2 separate regions of the Homo sapiens genome follow, and region 2 is linked to region 1. Evidence: promoter capture Hi-C in 16 types of primary human blood cells and fetal thymus (Javierre and others, 2016). All regions are on one chromosome and are shown on one strand. Each heading gives the region's core, a stretch centred on a gene start or on the middle of the fragment in contact. The rest is flanking DNA. Distances are from core to core; before and after follow the strand shown. Region 1 holds the start of LPIN2 (lipin 2). Region 2 overlaps LPIN2 (lipin 2).

Evidence for each region. The method cuts DNA at HindIII sites, captures the fragments that hold promoters and counts their contacts. A CHiCAGO score of 5 or more calls a contact.
Region 2: a contact is called between a fragment that was not itself captured here and the fragment with the promoter of LPIN2 in region 1, in 1 of 17 cell types (non-activated CD4 T cells). The highest score is 6.7, in non-activated CD4 T cells.

What each region holds. Positions count from the first base shown.
Region 1 is chr18:3,011,230-3,014,688 of GRCh38, reverse strand. LPIN2 (lipin 2) reads left to right here and starts at 1,545. Exons shown (of 20, transcript NM_001375808.2): 1 at 1,545-1,602. RefSeq lists a silencer at 1,155-2,104. The HindIII fragment of the contact is 8,581 bases long and covers 1-3,459 here.
Region 2 is chr18:2,969,490-2,972,948 of GRCh38, reverse strand. All of the region lies in intron 1 of LPIN2 (lipin 2), which reads left to right. LPIN2-AS2 (LPIN2 antisense RNA 2) reads right to left here. Exons shown (of 3, transcript XR_001753322.2): 3 at 2,840-2,921. Among named protein-coding and RNA genes, the nearest start is that of LPIN2-AS2, 4.2 kb to the right of the region's middle. RefSeq lists an enhancer at 198-347. The HindIII fragment of the contact is 731 bases long and covers 1,429-2,159 here.

The DNA.
Region 1 (3,459 bases), core at 296-2,795:
CAAGGAGCAGCTTTGTGTATGCAAATGCCTATTTCAGTACCCTTAGAACTGTATAAATGATCACACACAAGATGCACCTCATAAATTAACTGCCATTTATATAGAAGTAACATAGGCTTCTGTTCATTACTTTCAATCATAGAATAGTAATAGAATAGGCTGCAAATTAAAAACCAGTGTGCACCAATAGTATATAGCACCAGCAATCCAGTTTTTTTTGTTTTTTTTTTTTTTGAGACAGAGTTTCGCTCCCAGGCTGGAGTGAAGTGGCGCAATCTCTGCTCACTGCAACCTCCGCCCCCCGGGTTCAAGTGATTCTACCGCCTCTGCCTCCTAAGTAGCTGGGATTGCAGCCAACATGCCCGGCTAATTTTTGTATTTTTAGTAGAGGCGGGGTTTTGCCACGTTGGCCAGGCTAGTCTCCAACTCCTGACCTCAGGCGATCGACCCGCCTTGGCCTCCCAAAGTGCTGGGATTACCGGCGTGAGCCACCGCGCCGGGCCCCATTTCTTTTCTTTCTGAGACGGAGTCTCTCTGTCGCCAGGCTGGAGTGCAATAGCGCCATCTCGGCTCACTGCAATCTCCGCCTCCCGGGTTCAACTGATTCTCCTGCCTCAGCCTCCTGAGAAGCTGGGATTACAGGCACGCGCCACCACGCCCGGCTGGTTTTTTGTATTTTTAGTAGAGACGGGGGTTTCACCATGTTGGCCAGGCTGGTCTTGAACTCCTGACCTCAAGTGATCCGCCTGCCTCGGCCTTCCAAAGTGCTAGGATTACAGGCGTGAGCCACCCATTTCTTAAAAAGTATATTTTAATGCTGGGGACGGTGGCTCATGCCTGTAATTCCAGTACTTTGGGAGGCCGAGGTGCGGGGATGCTTGAGCCCAGGAGTTGGAGACCAGCCGGGGTAACAGAGCGATAAAAAGAATAAACAAAAAACAACAGAACCCCGGCATATTTTTAAAAATGAGTTGTGTAATAGGATTTTTTTTTTTTCGGTGGAGATGTAAGTAAGCAAAGGAGATGTGCTACTAGTGATCAAAAGGGGATTATAAAACATTCATTCCCTAGACTTTTTTTGCACTTTAACATTCCTTTTTGGCAATTGGGCTCTCAGTCCCACGTGACCTGCCGCAGGGTTGCCATGGGGACCGGAAGAAACTTTTTTTTTTTAAAACAAAGTAAGGCTCCTGTCGCCCGAGGCACTAGAAAATCGAGGCCCCGCCCTCACTTGGCCAGGGGCCCGGGCGCGCAGCCCAGGGACTGGGAGCGGTGAGAAGCCGCACGCCTGGCGCTCGGCGGCGGGGGCGCGGCGCGCGGCCGGGAGCGCGCGTCACGTGGCTGGGGCGGGGCCTGCGCGCTGCCCGCCCGCCAGCTGCCGGCTCGGCCGCCGCAGCCGCGGCGTCCCATTCATGAGGGCCGCCCGACTCAGCTGCGGCCCAGGCGGCTTCCAAGGCAGCGGCGGCTGCGGGCGCTCCGACCCCGCGCGCGCCCCCGACCGGCCCCGCCCCCTCGGCTTCCCTCCCCGGCGGGTCCTAGCCGTCGCAGTCCAGCCGCCGCCTGCCCTCAGCCGCCCGCTGGCCGGGAGCGGAGCCCCTGTGGGTAAGTGGGCGCGGGCCGGGCTCCTCGCAGGCGTCCCTCCGGGGCTGGCGGTGAGTGTCTGCGCCTGGGGGCTTCCCTTGGCGCGGGCCCGGGGCTGTCCTGCCGGAGGCCGGGACCCTCCGGGGCGGCGCGGGTTGAGCCGCCCCTCCTCGCGCCGCGGTCCCCGCTTCCCGGTCCTCGCGTCCCAGTCCCCGCCTCGCCGCGACCGCGCCACGTAGACGCGGCCCCTACCGCCGCCGCCGCAGGACGGACCGGCGGGGTGCGCGGGGAGCCGGGGGCGTCGGGGCGTCAGTGGTGGCTGCTGAGGACTCTGAACCCGCGCAGTTCCCTCGCCGCCGCCCTGGGGATGGTTACCCGAGACCACCCCTACCCCTGGGTTTGGGGCGCGGAGGGGAGTGCGGAAGGCGCGCGGGAGGCCGCGTCTCCATCCCGCCCCCGGCCCTGCGGGAGGGGGCGCCGGGCACGTGATCTGCGGCGAGGCGGGGGCCGCCGAGTTGCTGGTGTTTCTTCCCCGCCGCGCTTTGCCCCGTACCTCCGCCTTCAAGCTGTGTGGACCGGATTCAAATGTGGTTAGTTTTCTCAAAGCCCCCCAGCCCCCGGTGCAGATCTTAATTTGTGAGGAACACGTTCAGATACAGTTTGTACTGAGAGCCTCTCTGTCCACTTCTAACGCCAGCGGATCACCATTTTCTCCACTCGCCTGAACATTTTAAGACTCTTTTCATTGAAAATTCAAGATGACATTTTTTAGGCATAATTATGCAAACCAGTACCAGAAAGATCACCCTTCCTTTCCGAAAAGTACTGGAACTCTGAATACTTGGAAATGCTTTGAAGGACTACTTAGTAAATGGCCAAACTAATTTTTAATGCACATTTGGGGCTTACCCATTTTTTTTTTAATTGAAAACGAGGCTCTAGACTTGGTGTCAAGGTAGGTCCTGTTGAATGAAGTTCTTTACCCAGTAGTGATGATGGGTGTTACTGTTTATTAAAACTTGGCCTGGCTAGATTATAATGTTTTGACAATACAAAGTCGGTTTTGAAATACATTTTGAAATATTTACGAATTATTTAGTGGCCCATACTGGTTTATGTTTTAACGGTCTGGTGTTGATCGTTCTTAGTGGCTTCAGATTGAGAAGAAGTGGCAGGTGATGCTGAAGCGGGGGAGAAGCGGCAGAGCCGGCCACACAGTGCAGGGGATGGAGACAGGTGCTGGGCTGGTCCTCCTGCAGCATCCTCAGTTGTTGGAGGGCAGTCATCCTCAGGCCGTACCCAGCCAGAGAAGAAAAAGAACAGTGTGAAGCCACGTGTGATAGCCGTCCAACATCGGCTCTTCCCTCCAATTACATTGTAGTTGATTGTGGTATGTCAGACTGAAGTATCTCTTTTATTTCGAGACAGAGTCTCACTCTGTCGCCCAGGCTGGAGTGTAGTTGCGCGATCTCCGATCACTGCAATCTCTGCCTCCTCTGTTAAAGCGATTCTTGTGCCCCAGCCTCCCGAGTAGCTGGGATTACAGGCATGAGCCACCACACTCAGCTAATTTTTGTATTTTTATTAGAGACCGGGGGTTTCACCATGTTGGCCAGGCTGGTCTCGAACTGCCGACCTCAGGTGATCCGCCCCCCTCGGCCTCCCAAAGAGCTGGGATTACAGGCGTGAGCAACCGCCCCAGCCAGACTTAAGGTATCTCCATGCCCAACTTTTGATAGAGGTAGCCATAGAAAGCTAGAAATGAAACGACAGGTTCTGTTTTAACGTTTGATGGCACAGTCGAGAGTCAATAGGCACGCATTATGCTTAAGAGAAGCTGGAAATGAAGTGTTTGAAAACCCTTTAATACTATAGTAA
Region 2 (3,459 bases), core at 545-3,044, 42 kb after region 1:
GTTCCCTGTAACAGCATCTGTCACCTCATGTACAGAGGTCAAAACTGGGCATATTTTAGCCTTGATGGGAACAGACAAGAATTAAATTATCAGAAAGTTTCATGACAAGGTTTTATTTTCATTTTGGGAAATGAAGGGAGAAGCATTAAAGAGAAATGTGGGAACAGGAACCATTTAGTTTTACAGAGCTATGATAGTTTGAAACAAGTTTGGCCATGTGAATGTTGTCGGGGCTGAGGAAGGGAGTTGGGGCCCCCTTTTGAGGGTGCTGCTTACCGTTTTAGGATCTCCTTAAGCCACACATGTTATTTTGAAATTTAACGATAAAATTGAACACTAGTTTTTCTTGCTCTGTACCAGGTTCTATTTCTGAAGAAAATTAATGTTCTGGTACATTATTGAGCACAGGAAAATTAAACTATTGTTTCCAGCCATTTTCCTTAAAGGCTGTGCTCTGTAGCATAATTATATTGGGCATTTTCGTAAAAGTCAGCTGACTAGTAGAAGATGGATAACTTTGTGGTTGTGTTTCACTTTGTTTTCTGTAATAATGCAGTTACGGCACCCTTGCCCCTGCCTCGGCTGACTTCACACTGACTTCCTCTGATGACCAGCAGTCTCTGCCGCGAGTTGCTGCTGCGCTGCTCAGTATTCTCCAGAATGATCTACTTGGCTGTCATTTGTTCTCACGGGGATATTTTTAGATTTACCCATCCTGAGGCGGTGTCATTTTTGTCACTGACATAGACTAGATTTATGCAAGTTTTTCTCTGTGAGGTCTTCAGCAGCTTCTGGAGGAAAGTATTGGTCTGAACACATGGGCATTGCTTTTGGGACTTTGGGTTAACTTCCACCATGGATTTCTTTTCTTTGTTTTTGTTTTTTTGTTTTGTTTTGTTTTTGATATGGAGTTTCACTCTGTCGCCCAGGCTGTAATGCAGTGGCGCGATCTTGGCTCACTGCAACCTCCACCTCCTGGGTTCAAGCGATTCTCGTGTCTCGGCCTCCTGAGTAGCTGGGATTACAGGTGCCCACCACCATGCCTGGCTAATTTTTGTGTTTTTAGTAGAGAGTTTCACCATGTTGGCCAGGCTGGTCTCAAACCCCTGACCTCAGGTGATCCACCCCCCGCCTCGGCCTCCCAAAGTGCTGGGATTACAGTCGTGAGCCACCGCACCCAGCCTGTTTTTTTTTTTTTTTTCCAGTGCATGGTTATATGTATCTTCACTTACCTCTTGAATTTTACTCTAAGTCAGTGAGATAAAACGCAACACTGTGTATATTTCTCCCTCTCCTTGCTGATTCTGTTCACTAGGTCTTGCATTCATTCATTCATTTATTCATTGGTCCATTCATTGATCCAAAACCACTTATTAAGAACCTACTATTGCTAGGCACTGTGCCAAGCTTTCAGGAAGCAGTGAAGCTTGCGGGACTTTTCTCTTCCTTACCGGAACTCAAGAGTTTGAAGGTAGCCTAAATGTTCATGCCGCGTGGTGGGTGCTGTGGTAGGGAGAGGGCAGGGGGCCTTGGGCACTCACAGCAACAGATCCCATCTTGTGACCTCTGCTTTCTTCTCAGCCGCTGAGCCCACACATCCTCCCCTATCATCTTTTTGATCTTTGCCTTTGTGCTCTGGGGATTCACAATCTGTTGTGGATGTACGTTCCTTTTTGATCCCACTTCCTCCTTACCCAGGGAACCTGAAACATCCTTGCTCCTCTTACGAAATACCAGATTAAGATGAAAACTGGTATTGGCTTTTGAAGAATTGTCCAGAAAATTATTGGGCTGATGACTGGGGTGGGTAGAAGATGGGGGCTGGTAATTTTTGAAGATGAAATAGGTGATGTTTATGGTCCTTCCTTAAGTTATACCTGCTGAAAAGCTGAAGTAGACACTGTCGTTGAGTAAAGGTCTGGGCCGCCACTCGGAGAGAGGGTGCATTGCTATACTGGGAAAGCGTCTTCCCTTTTCTGAGCCCTACTCAGTCCAACAAAGCAGTTCATCTGTTTATAGAAAGTGAGTGTGTTGAAATCATCATAGTGAAGTGAACTCAGTGAGCAGAAGTCTGAGCTTTCAGATTCCCTCAAAGGAAATAACATGGTGACAGATCCAAAAATCCTAATTTAAAACTTATCAGCCCTGAGAACTAAGCTTAAGGCCAGCTTCATATTTTCTCATTTTTAAAAAATTAAAAATTTTTTTCTCAACAGATTAAGTTGTTAAGTAGCATAAAGTGTTATCTGGGTTATGTTTGAAGCATGTTCTTGCTAGTTTTGCCAGGCTGATATTTGCAGGAGGGTGTTTTAGGGCTCCAGGTGGCTTTATCCAGTCAGGATCTAGCCTGTCTGATTTAAGTCCTCTGTTGGCAACATTGGAAATGGACTCTGAACAACCACGCAAAGAAACTTATGACTGGCTCATCGTTCAGAGAGATGCCAAGAGGGCAAGAGCCAGGGCCACCTGGGGTGTCAGTGTTCCAAGCTGGTGGGCCTTCTGCATCCCATCTCAGGTAGCCCAGCCCTCCCAGTCTTGGGTGGCCTTGGCTCTCCATATACGTTTCATGAATATCTGTTTGGGCCAGATGTTTCCCACCCCTGTCAGCCAGCAGATACCAAGACCTGGGTCCCGTATTATAGACATGGCTACTGGGGGCCCACCCTTGTGTTTCGGTGCCTCTCTGAGCACTGAAATCATTGAAATCCAGGGAGCCCTGTTTTTACCTTCAGATCTAGCCATTGCATTATGTGTCTGTTTAAATTCCCAAACAGAAATATTGAATCAGAAAATCCCCTCTTCTTACGTATCCCAAAGGTTGATATTGAGTAATATTTGGTTGTAATTGTGGAAGGGGTCCTTAGGCAAGCAGTCTTCCCAGGCCAGAATTTCTGAGTTTTTTCACAGAAGCACTGCCAGTTCTAGAATTTAAGTATCATAAAACAGTCAGGTCAGCTGTCATTAAAATGTCTAAAATTCTATTACTATCTATTGCTTCCACTTCTGATCCACACTTATCAGACCTTGACATCTTTATACGACAGGATGTGAACTTGAGCCCATAACAACTTAGTCTTCATAACAAACTTAATCAGGCTTAAGAGGAGAAAGTTCTTGCAACAGAGCCTAGAGTTAGTTCCCAAACTTGGGTGTCTGTCAGAATCGTGGGTAACAGATTTTTAAGACCTCATTTCCAGCTTTTTATGTAGTAGGTCTGGGTTGGGGTTCATGAGCGTGTATTTGTTTTTATCCCCCTTTCCCGTATTTTTCATGAATGAACCTACATTCTTAAGCACCAAAACTTGCTTCTATTGCAGGCAGTCCAAGGACCACTCTTTGAGAAATACTGACCTAGAGTGTGCTCCTTGCCAGTTTTCCTCATTTAGTGGGGAAAAAGAAGTTAGATATAAAAACCTCCCTGACTGCGACTTCAAACAGTGGAGGTGATGGGGTTGCTCT